2 separate regions of the Homo sapiens genome follow, and region 2 is linked to region 1. Evidence: promoter capture Hi-C in human tissues and cell types (Jung and others, 2019). All regions are on one chromosome and are shown on one strand. Each heading gives the region's core, a stretch centred on a gene start or on the middle of the fragment in contact. The rest is flanking DNA. Distances are from core to core; before and after follow the strand shown.

Region 1 (6,386 bases), core at 3,870-6,369:
CAGTACTATGACTCCAGATGTACACATCAAGCCTTGGCCTTGTCTCTGACCGTGGCCACACCAGTTACCCTATACAAGAGCAGGAAAGAGAACCATCCAAAGTGCCCGTCAAACACAGAATCATGAGAGATAATAGATTCTTGTGTTTTAAGCTACTAAATTTTTGTTTGCTGTACTACAGGTTTTTTTGGTGAAAGGAAGGTAAGTCTCAGGACCCCCAAATCACTAAGCCAAAAAGAAAGTTGTTGGCCGGGTGCGGTGGCTCACATCTGTAATCCCAGCACTTTGGGAGGCCGAGGCGGGCAGATCACGAGGTCAGAAGATCGAGACCATCCTGGCTAACACAGTGAAACCCCGTCTCTACTAAAAATACAAAAAATTAGCCGAGTGTGGTGGTGGGCACCTGTAGTCCCAGCTACTCGGGAGGCTGAGGCAGGAGAATGGCATGAACCCAGGAGACAGAGCTTGCAGTGAGCCGAGATCGCGCCACTGCACTCCAGCCGGGGCGACAGAGCGAGACTCCATTTCAAAAAAAGAAAAGAAAAAAAAAAGAAAGACAGTTGTTGCCTTTTTTGGGGTTGAAATTTGAACCCAAAAAATCACTAAGTCAAGCTGGGGACTGCATCAGGCAAACTTGGCTCCCATTTTTTCCCCAAATAAGATAGTTACAAAGATTAAAAAACTACATATCTCCTTCAGAGTTTGCCCCCAAGGAATTTCCATGTGGGCCTCAGCATCTTTACCCTAAAACAGTTCTGTTGAATTTCACCTTGGCAATGTAAATTGATAGTTTATCTTAACAGATGCGGGACAAGGACAGAACTCAAAGTCATCCCTCTTCCCACCCGAGACAAATGCATATCTGATTGCTTCCTCCGCCTGTTGCTTATGTAAAAATGCAGATTCACTGAGACAGACTGAGGCATAAGTGACTCTTCCTCTACCCTCCTCACATGTAAATTGTGTACTCAGTGAAAGGCTGATCAGAATCAAAATAATACAACCTTTTGTCTCTTATCTACCTACCACCTGGAAGCCCCCACTTCGAGTTGCCCCACCTTTCCAGACTGAACCAATGTACATCTTAAATGTACTGATTGATGTCTCATATCTCCCTAAAATGTATAAAACCAAGCTATACCCCTATCACTTTGGGTACAAGTCATCAGGACCTCCTGAGGCTATGTCACGGGCACGTCCTTAACCTTGGCAAAATAAACTTTCTACATTGATTGAGACTTGTCTCAGATAGTTTTGGTTCACAATTTCATAGGAAACTGATTTGCCCTCTGTCTGGGCAACAACTCACACAGGCTAAGAGATCAATTTTTTTCCTTTGTGATGTTACACCAAACCTCAGAACTATAGACTGTCAGAGGTGGAGGGGATTTTTTTCTCATAGAATAGAGACTATCTTCTCCAGGTGCTCATAAACAAGGGAAAAGCATGTGAGAAGTCCATAAATCTCTCCAAAATTTTGGAATGACTTGGAAATAACAGATTTTCAAAAGAGTCACCTGCAGCTTGTCGCAGTGGCTCACGCCTGTAATCCCAGCACTTTGAGAGGCCAAGGCGGGCGGATCACGAGGTCAGGAGTTTGAGACCAGCCTGGCCAACATAGTGAAACCCCGTCTCTACTAAAAATACAAAAATTAGCCTGGCAAGGTGGCGCGCCTATAGTCCCAGCTACTCAGGAGGCCAAGGCAGGAGAATCACTTGAACCTGGGAGGCGGAGGTTGTAGTGAGCCAAGATCACGCCACTGCACTCCAGCCTGGGCAACAAAGGGAGACTCCACCTCAAAAAAAAAAAAAAAAAAAGTCACCTGCCAAAAAATATAGAGCATGAAAAAGGGCCAGTTCCTCCCCCATTTTTGAAGTTGAAAAACTAAGATCCAGAGAGTAGAAAAGGACTTGTACAACATCACACGATTACCAAAAGAAAAGGGATCCAAGCCTGGCTGCCCGAATTCCCACTTCATCTCATCACATCCCTCCTCTACTCAAAACTCCCTCACGCTTCCCACTGCCTGAGACAAAGTCCAAACCTACCCAGCATTCAAGGCCCTTCCCAAGTTCAGTCCAACCCATCTTTCCATTGCCATCCTTTGCCGTACTGCCCCAACCCATGCCATAGCAGACTTCTTTCCCATCCCCAAAACACACTCTCAGGCTCTGATGTGCTTGTTCAAGTTGACACCTCCACCCGGGACACCCTTCCCATTCTTCACTTGTAGGCCAATTCCCATTTGTCTTTCCGGCCCCAAATCAGAGGTCTCCACCTCTGAGAAGCCCTCACAGCCTCACCTCCACGTGGTAGGTTGCTCCCCTATGTCCACTCCCAAGACATCCTGTACAGACTCTTGTGGCAGGCTTATAATGCCTCCCCGAAAGATGTCCGTGTCCTAGCCCCTAGCCCCCAGAACCTGTGGATAGGATACCTTACTTACCATCCATGTTACCCTATGGTAAGAGGGTCTTTGCAAATCTGATTAAGTTGAGGTTGAGACGGAAAGATCATTCTCAATTATTTGGGCAGACCCAATGTAATCACAAGTGTTGTTAAAAGAAAGAGGCAGAAGCCAGGTGCGGTGGCTCACGCCTGTAATCCCAGTACTTTGGGAGGCTGAGGCGGGTGGATTACTTGAGGTCAGGAGTTCGAGACCAGCCTGGCTAACATGGTGAAACCCCCATCTCTACTAAATACAAAAATTAGCCGGGTGTGGTGACGCATGCCTGTAATCCCAGCTACTTGGGAGGCTGAGACTGGGAGAATTGTTTGAAACCGGGAGGCAGAGGTTGCAGTGAGCCGAGATTGTGCCACTGCACTCCCACCTGGGTGACTGAGCAAGACTCCATCTCAAAAACAAAAACAAAAGAAAGAAAGAAGCAGGAAGTGAGCAAAGGGATCGTGGAAACAGAGATTTGAGTGATGAAGCCATGAGCCAAGAAATGCCAGCAACATTTGGAAGCTGGATGAGGCACGGAACAGATACTCTCCTTGACCCTCCAAAAAGGGACCAGCCCTGAGGATACCTTCACTTGGGCCCAGTAACACTGATTTGGGACTTCCCGCCTCCAGAGTCATCAGATAACAAATGTGAGTCATTTTAAGCCACTGAGCTTGTGTTAATTTGTGAGAGCAGCAACACGAAACTCCTACACCTTTATTCTAGCATTAGTCACACTGTGTGACAGGTGCCGTTCTCACTCCACTGACAGCTCCTCAGCCTGGGGCACCTTTGTTTCCTGATGGTTTCACACAAAGCCTGGTGCTTCACAAGGGCTCACAAACACTGCTGAATGAATCAACAAGTGGACTCACCTGCTTCATCCCCCGCCTGTCTCCGTCAGCCTGAACACACACACACTGTCATACCCACTCCTCTCACCTGCTCACCCACCACCACCCACATCTCCCAGGAGGACATTTCTATTTTTACCACAGCAGCTCACCTTGGGCTGGCCAGCAAATAGCTGTTTCCCTGGAACATACTGATTTTAAGTGAGGAGAGGGATTTCTCTCAAGGTAATAATTGGACAAATCTGCTGGGAGAAAAAGACTAACATTTTGCTATGGTGGATTTGAAACCCAAGAATTGGCATTGTAGCACAGAAACGCAAAAATCTTTCCTAATGAGCCATTGATGTTCGCAAGACACAACCCTGACTCTTCACAATCCCCATTCCTCCCCACCCCATCTCAGCCCCAAGGTGGTCACTGGAAGGATGGTGAAATCTGTATTTAATGACACTGAAAGATGTCCACTTTATAGCATTAAGGGAGAAAAGCAGATTCCAGAACAGTGTGAATAGCGTGATCCCATTTTGTTAAAAAATTAAATCTACAGACAATGTGTATGTGTATGTATATACATACATACATAGGTGTACGTGAGTTTATGTACGCATAGAGCAGAGGCTGGAAGATTGGTGAAGATGTTAACAATGGTTTTATGGGGGTTATGGACAGTTGTTTTATCTGTATTTTTAAAATTGTTTTACAAAGAACAAGACTACTAACATAATGGGAAATAAAGTTCAAGTAATTTCAACATTTAAAAAGTGGAGCGTTTTGCGCGGCAGGGCTATTTTTTGTGTGTCCGTTCCTGGACAGCCCCAGCTCGATCCCCCGCCCCTCCTCAAGTGGGAAGCTGGGATCTGGGCTCCCCAGAGCAATGGCGGAAGCTTCGCGCAGCTGCGGGCGGGGAGAGGGACGCGGCCAGGTCGGGGGGCCGGGAGGGGTGCTGGGAATCGGAAAACACAGATATGACCGCGAAGGCGGTTTCTGCCGAATGACCAGATGATGACCCGCTGTGGGCCCAAGGCGGAGTGCGGGGAGCCCGTTCCTGCCCGCGGTCCCTCTCCCTCCCCCACTGCCACACCGGCCCCGCCGAATCCTCCCCGGTCTCCTGGGCGAGGACAGGTGCCGCCCGAGACCCCGGCCGCAGACAGATGCCCACGGTCACTCCGGCCTTCCTCGGCCCCATTCGCCGCACACCCCCTTCCTGCGGTGGCGTTTTTGTTTTAACTCTTCTGAACTGGTTACAAAACCACCCTCCCACGAATACATAAATAATGGGTGGGGGGCGATGTTTTAAAGAAATTCCCGCAAGGCCTGGCAAGGCAACAGCAACTGCATTTCTGCTGCATCATATTTAACTGTTTGCAGGCTGCTGCGGGAGATGCGCGGTGGCGGCGAGACTCGGGCTCCACAGCCCTTCTCCGCCCGGGGCCTGGCGAGACTCGCGTGGGGATTAAGAGGCAAGGAGAGGGTGTCAGCGATCGGGCGCCGGCAAGATGTGAGGGGGGGTGATAAGCGTAAGGCCGCAGCGTGCCCACAAGCCGGGCACCCATCGGGTCGGCCGGCAATTGCTCCCTCCGCCCGCGCGGCCCCTTTAAGAGCCAGCGCGCGCCCCCGCCCCGCGAGCGCCGACTTTCCCTAGCAACCGCCCCGGGGGAGGGGGAGGTCCTGGCAACCGCGCGCCAGCCGCGAGGATCACGTGACGGCCCGCAGCTGGAACGCGAGCGCGCGCCCCGCCGCGCTCCCGCCCGCCGGGGCCTGGGCGCTGCGGCGCGTGCGCGAGCGGTGCCGCACCGGCCGCGGGCGCAGGGAGTATTATGGGCTGTGGGTGCCGCTGAGCAAGATGGAGCTGTCTGCAGTGGGCGAGCGGGTCTTCGCGGCCGAATCCATCATCAAACGGCGGATCCGAAAGGTGAGCCGCCGCCCGGGGCGGGCCGCCGCTGTCCGCAGCCGGGGCCGGGGCCGGGGGCCCTCGGGGCGAAGCGGTCCCGCTAGCCCGGCTCCCTCGCCCAGCCCCGCGCCGCCGCCTCCTCGCGTCCCCGCATCCTCCCCACCCCCACCCCCGTTTTTCTCCCCTCTGTTTTTCAGGGACGCATCGAGTACCTGGTGAAATGGAAGGGGTGGGCGATCAAGTGAGTGTCGCGGGGTCCGGGGGCGTCGCGGGAGGGGAGGCAGCGGGCACCGGGGCCTGGGGTGGGGGTGCGCGCTCTTGCTCTCGCCGCGTGCCTGTCCCTCTCTGGTCTTCATCCTGATTTTGTGCGTTTGTGACTCGGCAGGTACAGCACTTGGGAGCCCGAGGAGAACATCCTGGACTCGCGGCTCATTGCAGCCTTCGAACAAAAGTGAGTTGTTGGGGAAGCTGGCAGGGGCTGCGAGGCCGAGGCTCGGCTGGGGCGCCGCGCGGGGAAGCGGGAGAGCCGGGGAGGGCAGCGCGGAGTGGGGCCCGGGAAGGGGCTCTTTTTAACCTCTGGTGTTTTTCGGCCGCAGGGAGAGGGAGCGTGAGCTGTATGGGCCCAAGAAGAGGGGACCCAAACCCAAAACTTTCCTCCTGAAGGTAACCTGGCCCAGCCCCAGCAGCATCCCCCTCTCGGGCCCCCAGCCCCGGCACAGCACGGGGCCTGGAAGGGAGGGACAGATACGCGGCCGCCCAAGCGGGCCGGCCTTTTCAGAGGGGCCCCAGCTGGGCAGGGGGTGGTTGTGAGCCCCCCCAGAAGCCCCTGATGGCAGGCCTCAGCCAGCATCAGCTTCAACAAGAGGGTTTTGGGACTGGGGATAATCCTCCCTGTTGAAACCAGGGGCTGGGGATGCCTTTAGGGCTCCAGGAAAGGGGGTGGCTGAGGCAGGTGGGGGATGCCCATGGGAAGGGGGCATTTGTTTGAGCTGTTATGACTGTGCTGGGAGTTGGAACCCAGGGGGAGAGTGAGTGGGGTCCCACCTCCTGGCAGGGCACAAGGAGAGGATTTGGGGGACCACCTGCCTCCCTGCCCCCAGCTTCCCCCGTTCAGTCTTTCAGGATTTGTTCTTCATGGCTCCCCTCCTTTCTTGGGGATCCAACTTGAATTTGACCTCAAATCATTTTACTTTG
Region 2 (6,386 bases), core at 1,668-4,167, 570 kb after region 1:
TACATCTCAATAAAGGTGTTGAAAGAAATTGCAACTTATAACACAGTATCCAGTGAAGCGTCCCCCACCCCTTCCTCCCTGACCCACTTAGCCCTGTACAGTCATGTTTCTGTTCAGTGTTTCTTTATGTAGCTAGAGCCAAACACAGATACTTAGTTCCCCACCTTTTTAAAGAAAACTGAAATGAGAGTGTGGAATATACACTGTTCTGTGCTTTGCTTTTTCACTTCCTGTATCTTGGAGATCTTTCCACTTGTGTGCAGAGAGAGCTTCCTGGTTCTTTTTCCATTGTATTCTGTTTTATGGATGGGCTATTCTTTATTTAATCAGCCCCCTCAGGAGGGACATTTGGGTTGTTTCCAAGCTTCTGCTGTTCCAAACAGCCTGCAGCCGACAGCCTTGTCCCCGCCTTGTTTTGCACCGTGCTAGGATGTCAGGTAAACTCCCAGAAGCGGGGTTGCTGGTCAGGGCTGAGTAGCGTCAAATCCCCCTCCAGTGGCGACTCAGCAGTTGACGCCTCCACCACCTGGGAGGAGTGCTCAGCGCCCCCACAGTCTTGCCGACAGACAGGTGTGTTATCTCGTAAGACTTTTGACAATCCTAGGTGAAACATGGTCTTTCACGATCATATTAATTTGCATTTCTCTTACAAGGAGGTTGGGCATCTTTCCCTATGAGTAAGGCTTTTCTATTAATGATTTCTTTCTCTGTGAAGTGTGTGTTTCAAATCCTTTGGCCTATTTTCTGCTGAGTCTTTTTCTGACTGATTTGTAGGAGCTCATTACATATTAGCTCTTTGCCTGTGATAAGAATTGCAAGTGAGTATGTCTCTTAGGACTTTATTTCCGGTGTTTTTGCCATGCAGAAGGGATTCTTTTTTTTTTGGAGAGGAAGGAGCTTTTTTTTTTTTTTTTTAAATGGCTTTAGGATTTTGAATCAGGGATAAAAATAAAAGCTTTGCCTAACCCCAAGGCTATAAGGCAATTCTCCCTTCTTCTAACATTTCATTGTTATTTCTTATTAAACGTTGAGTGGATGCAAAGAATACGTATAGAATACCTGCATGGCCTAAGGTGTCCCTCCCTGGGAACCACCGTCTGACATTTAATCTTTTTCCTTTCTTTCGTGTTTAAATCTGTATTGTCCAGTCTTGTTGCCTGTTTTGATATGGAAACAAGTAGAACTGTGCTTGCACTCTTCTTTTTTTTTTTTTTTTTTTTTTTTTTGAGCTGGAGTTTCACTCCGTCACCCAGGCTAGCGTGCAATGGCACAATCTCGGCTCACTGCAACCTCCGCCTCCTGGGTTCAAGTGATTCTCCTGCCTCAGCCTCCCAAGTAGCTGGGATTACAGATGCCTGCCACTGCGCCCGGCTAATTTTTGTATTTTTGGTACAGACAGGGTTTCACCACCTTGGCTGGGCTGGTCTCGGACTCCTGACCTTGTGATCCACCCGCCTCAGCCTCCCAAAGTATTGGGATTACGGGCGTGAGCCACTGTGCCTGGCCTCGGGTAGAATGTTTTCAAGGTGCACTCGTGTCGTAGCGTGTATCGGTACTTTATTCCTCTTTATTGCTGAATAATATTCCGCCGCATGGAGGCACTGCATTCCATTCATCCTTGCATCTGTGACAGATGTTTGTTGTTTCCACCCTCTGGCTGCTGTGAGGAGTGCACCCCTGGGACCAGGGTCATTGTGTGAAGCAGGCATCCTTTCCTCTTCACTGCCGCCTGGGATTCCCTGGTGACTGCGCCACTGTTCCTGTTCTTCTGCTGCTGAGCACTTGGGCTGTTTGCTCCTGTGTCCATCCTTGTCCTGTCCCCCTGGTGCACACGTGTTTCTGAAGGATGTACACTCAGGAGTGGGGTTGCTTGGGCGAGCGTTTGTTTATGTTCAGCTTCACCCAAGAGGTGCACAGGGGCTGTGCCAACTCACACCCACACCTTTATTTCTTATATACAAACTTTTCCTCTACTTGAGATTTCTCCTGGTTGTGGTGTGAGCCATGGTGTCTTTTCTCAGGTGGCCAGCCGGTTGTTCAGGGACATTATTAATGAACAGTCTCATCTTTTCCTCTGATGTGAGGTCCTGCCTTTCTCCTGTCTTGAACTCCTCCTGAGGCTGTGTCCCTGGGGGTTGTTCTGGCCTGTTTGTGTCCTGTTGCGACACTGTCCTACTCCTCCTGCTGGGCTCGCTGCTGGCCCCAGGAAGGAGACACCCTGTCGCCCAGCCTAGCCCCAGCCCTTCATCTCATCCACCCATACAGCCAGGGAAACTGAGGCAAGGTACACTTTGGGCTTGGTCTTTCTTGTGACTTCTTGAGTTGGGCAGTGGGCCCAGGCAGAGAGCGGGGCCTTGGTGTGTGTGAGGGTATTTTCTTAGAGCCCCTTGAGAAGCCAGGAGTGGACTGGGGGAGACGGGGAGGTGCAGGCAGGACCTCTGACCTATGCTGGAGGCCAGCAGAGCCGGGGTTGATCTCAAGGCCGCCATTTACAGGTCAGGTGACCTTGAGCTGGGTCTCTAGCTGGGTCTCTGTTTTCTCATCTCTACAAGGGGGTTGAGAATCGAATGAGACACTGGATTAGAATGTGCAGGGCTGCCTCTGAAGGCATCAGCATTGACTGAGGGGTTGCTGCGGCTGTCCCATCCTCATCCTGTAGGCCAGGGTGGTCCTGGCTTGTTCTGGTGTGTTCGGCAGCCCAGCCCCATTGGGCCTCTTCTGCACGTGCCACCATCTCAACCCGACAGACCTCACTGCCTGAATTTGCTCTAGGACTCAGCCCCCTCCCTTAGGTGGTCTGTGAGCCTTTTGCATACCTGACCCTTGCCCCACTCACATCGGGCCTTCTTGTCGCCCCAACCTGTGGCCCTGGGTAGCCCTTGTGTGTCACCTCTGTCCCTCACAGCGCTGACCTTCTTTCCCCTCAGGAACCCTTTGCCGGGGCTCCTTTGCCCCCTTCCCAGCCTCCCCCAAGAGCTCCTCAAGGGCAGATGGCCCCGGGCCCGGCACACGCCAGATCTCAGAAATGCTTAGTGGGGCGCCTGGGACTGCCTGGCCTTTGAGGGTGACCCTGGTCCCTTGCCTCCCTGCCCCGGGCAGGTGCCAACATCGCCTCTGGTGAGGAAGTCGCCATCAAGCTGGAGTGTGTGAAGACAAAGCACCCCCAGCTGCACATCGAGAGCAAGTTCTACAAGATGATGCAGGGTGGCGGTGAGCGCAGGGTGGGCGGCGGCGGGCGCCGGGTGGGTGGCGGTGGGCAGCCATGAGCACAGGGTGGGCCGGGCGTGGCTGGCTGCCTGCCTCTGACCCCTGACAGAGGCCCTCTGCTTGACCCCCAGTGGGGATCCCGTCCATCAAGTGGTGCGGAGCTGAGGGCGACTACAACGTGATGGTCATGGAGCTGCTGGGGCCTAGCCTCGAGGACCTGTTCAACTTCTGTTCCCGCAAATTCAGCCTCAAGACGGTGCTGCTCTTGGCCGACCAGATGGTGAGTCCCCGTCCCCTCCATCCCCAGCCAGATGCCTGTGGGCCCAGGATACCAGCCCTGCCTCCTGCCCCCAGAGGATGCCAGAGGATGGGCCTGGGCCAGGGGACCTTGTCCACTGGCTATAGAATTGTAGGTGTTTATTTATTTTTTGAGGCGGAGTCTCACTCTGTCGCCCAGGCTGGAGCGCAGTGGTGCGATCTCAGCTCGTTGCAACATCCGCCTCCCAGGTTCACGCGATTCTCCTGCCTCAGCCTCATGAGTAGCTGGGATTACAGGCACCTGCCACCACGCTGGGCTAATTTTTGTATTTTTAGTAGAGACAGAGTTTTACCAAGTGATCCGCCCATCTTAGCCTCTCAAAGTGCTGGGATTACAGGCGTGAGCCACCGTGCCCAGCCAAGTTGTTTATTTAAAATGTGATTTCAGGCCCAACTCCAGACCTGCCGAGTCAGGGCCTGGGACTCTGCCTGGGGTAGTTTTATTTATTTATTTCAAAAATATCATTTAATTGTAAGAAATAGAGATGGGGGTCTCACTGTGTTGACCAGGCTGGTCTCAAACTCCTGGCCTTGAGCAGTCTTCCCATCTTGGCCTCCCAAGATGGGAATTAACACGGGATCACAGGCATGATCCACCACGTCTGGCCTGCCCTGGGTAATGTAAAGCCTGCGGTCGGTCACACAGACCTGGTCCTGTTCCAGACCAGTGACCGTAGGTGAACGCCGAACCTCTCTGAGCCTCAGTGGCCTCATGTGAGAGTCTCTCCTTTGTTGGTTGTTGAGGGGATTAGGTGAGATACCATTCAGCGCCTTGCCAAAACAGGCCCCTCTAACAGGCTGTTGTTAAGTACTAAGCCCTTCATCAGCATAGGGAGGAAAGCTTCTTAAAAATACAAAACTGTAGAATTTTGAACTTGGAATGGAATGTGGAGATCTCGTACAGGGGTTTTAATCTTGGTCTGCAAAAGCCCTGCGATGTAGGCTGAAGGTGTGTGAGCAGAGGGTCGCCAGAGCCCCTCATGGTGTGAAACTCAAGAAAGGTGCAGGAGATGTTGAGCTGTGCTGAACCTGGGGCCAGAGCCAGAGGCCACGGCATGTGGATGGATATTAGTTTGAGTTTTAAAAACTCGACTGAAAAGGTGGCTCAAGTCTGTAATCCCAGCACTTTGGGAGGCCGAGGCAGGCGGATCTCCTGAGATCGGGAGTTTGAGACCAGTCTGACCATCATGGTGAAACGCCATCTCTGCTAAAAATACAAAAAATTAGCCAGGTGTGGTGGCGCGTGCCTATAGTCCCAGCTATTCGGGAGGCTGAGGCAGGAAAATCACTTGAACCCTGAAGGCAGAAGTTGCAGTGAGCCGAGATTTTGCCACTGCACTCCAGCCTGGGCAACAGACCGAGACTCCATCTCAAAAAAAAAAATATCAAAGGAAAGAGGGCCATGTGCCTGTCTGAGTTTGGCATCCTTCGGAAGCCCTGTCTTTTGTGTTCTGCCTCTGTCACCTCTTCCTGGTCTAGGCTTCCCCCATGTTCCCTGCCTGCCCCTCGCCCACATCTGTTGCCTCTCTGGCTCCCTAAGTCCTGTGAGTGTGGGGCCGGGCAGGCAAGCCTTCCATGGGGAACCAGTTGCCTTTCTAGCAGACTCTTCATTTCTGGATCTTCCCATTAGCTTTCCTGCAATACTCTCTTTCTCTGTCTCACAGCCAACTTGGTGAACTCCCCCTTTAGAGTTCATCCTGATGTCACATTTTCCAGGAGGCCTTCTCTGGCCTGCCCCTTAGTTATCCTTCATGGTCGAAGGCAGGCCTTTCTCCCTCTGCCTTTCCACCTCTGTGGCCCCAGCCCCTGCCTGGCCCAGAGTGCTAGGCAAGGGCCCCTCTGTTGAACAAATGGCCCCCCTCCTCCCCAGATCAGCCGCATCGAGTATATCCACTCCAAGAACTTCATCCACCGGGACGTCAAGCCCGACAACTTCCTCATGGGGCTGGGGAAGAAGGGCAACCTGGTCTACATCATCGACTTCGGCCTGGCCAAGAAGTACCGGGACGCCCGCACCCACCAGCACATTCCCTACCGGGAAAACAAGAACCTGACCGGCACGGCCCGCTACGCTTCCATCAACACGCACCTGGGCATTGGTGAGGGAGCCAGGCCTGGAGCAGTGTGCACCCGGGGCCACTGGCTGGGGCCCAGCTCTCTGGAGCCCTCTCACCCCCTACCCTGATGGAGGCCCCCAGGCTCTTTTCTAGTGAGAAAGTCCCCACCCCGTCTGCCCCCAAGCTCGTGCTTATTCCGTGTCCTTGCACAGTCGGGTCTTCCCCTTCGTAAGCCAAGCTGTGTGTGCCGGGCGCCTTCCCTGGCCCTGCTTCCTCCTCCGCCCTGTTGGTGCAGGCTGGAAGATACAGGCTCAGAGGTTTAACATGGGTTGCTTAAGGTCATGCAGCTTAGCTAATGCCAAAGCTGGACTTGACCCCGGCCCTGTCTGATGCTGAAGCTTGTGACCTCTCCACGGGGTGGGCCAGGCAAGGGGGCAGTAGGTGCCCTCTCATAGTCATTGAATGATTAAGTGCCTGAACTGGAAAAACTAGGCCCAAATTAAGTTGAGAAGGCCCTGCCTCAGGCTTCTTCTCTGTAGGAGGAGGATAATAGCAGTGCCTGTTTAAAATGCGTGCAGTGAGCAACATCCGACGTGGGGGCAGGAGGGTCCTGGTGCATTGTGAGGAGCATGACCCAGAGGATGAGTTAGGGGCCTGAGTGGACCCCTGTCCCTCACCTAGTCTTTGACTCTCTGTGCAGAGCAAAGCCGTCGAGATGACCTGGAGAGCCTGGGCTACGTGCTCATGTACTTCAACCTGGGCTCCCTGCCCTGGCAGGGGCTCAAAGCAGCCACCAAGCGCCAG

What was found. Contacts are between HindIII fragments. The study calls those that stand out against the background at their distance.
Region 2: a contact is called between a fragment that was not itself captured here and the fragment with the promoter of CBX6 in region 1, in 1 of the 25 tissues and cell types used here (hippocampus).

Annotation. Positions count from the first base shown.
Region 1 is chr22:38,870,949-38,877,334 of GRCh38, reverse strand. CBX6 (chromobox 6) reads left to right here and starts at 5,119. Exons shown (of 5, transcript NM_014292.5): 1 at 5,119-5,213; 2 at 5,390-5,433; 3 at 5,578-5,643; 4 at 5,789-5,855. The coding sequence starts at 5,145. RefSeq lists enhancers at 2,781-2,960, 2,777-3,976, 3,813-4,362, 4,363-4,913 and silencers at 4,908-5,167, 5,198-5,347, 5,448-5,497. The HindIII fragment of the contact is 23,948 bases long and covers 2,065-6,386 here.
Region 2 is chr22:38,299,962-38,306,347 of GRCh38, reverse strand. It overlaps TPTEP2-CSNK1E (TPTEP2-CSNK1E readthrough), which reads left to right. Exons shown (of 15, transcript NM_001289912.2): 7 at 3,100-3,210; 8 at 3,339-3,487; 9 at 5,396-5,624; 10 at 6,283-6,386. It overlaps CSNK1E (casein kinase 1 epsilon), which reads left to right. Exons shown (of 11, transcript NM_152221.3): 3 at 3,100-3,210; 4 at 3,339-3,487; 5 at 5,396-5,624; 6 at 6,283-6,386. Among named protein-coding and RNA genes, the nearest start is that of CSNK1E, 14 kb to the left of the region's middle. RefSeq lists enhancers at 216-465, 566-615, 6,273-6,386. The HindIII fragment of the contact is 4,513 bases long and covers 661-5,173 here.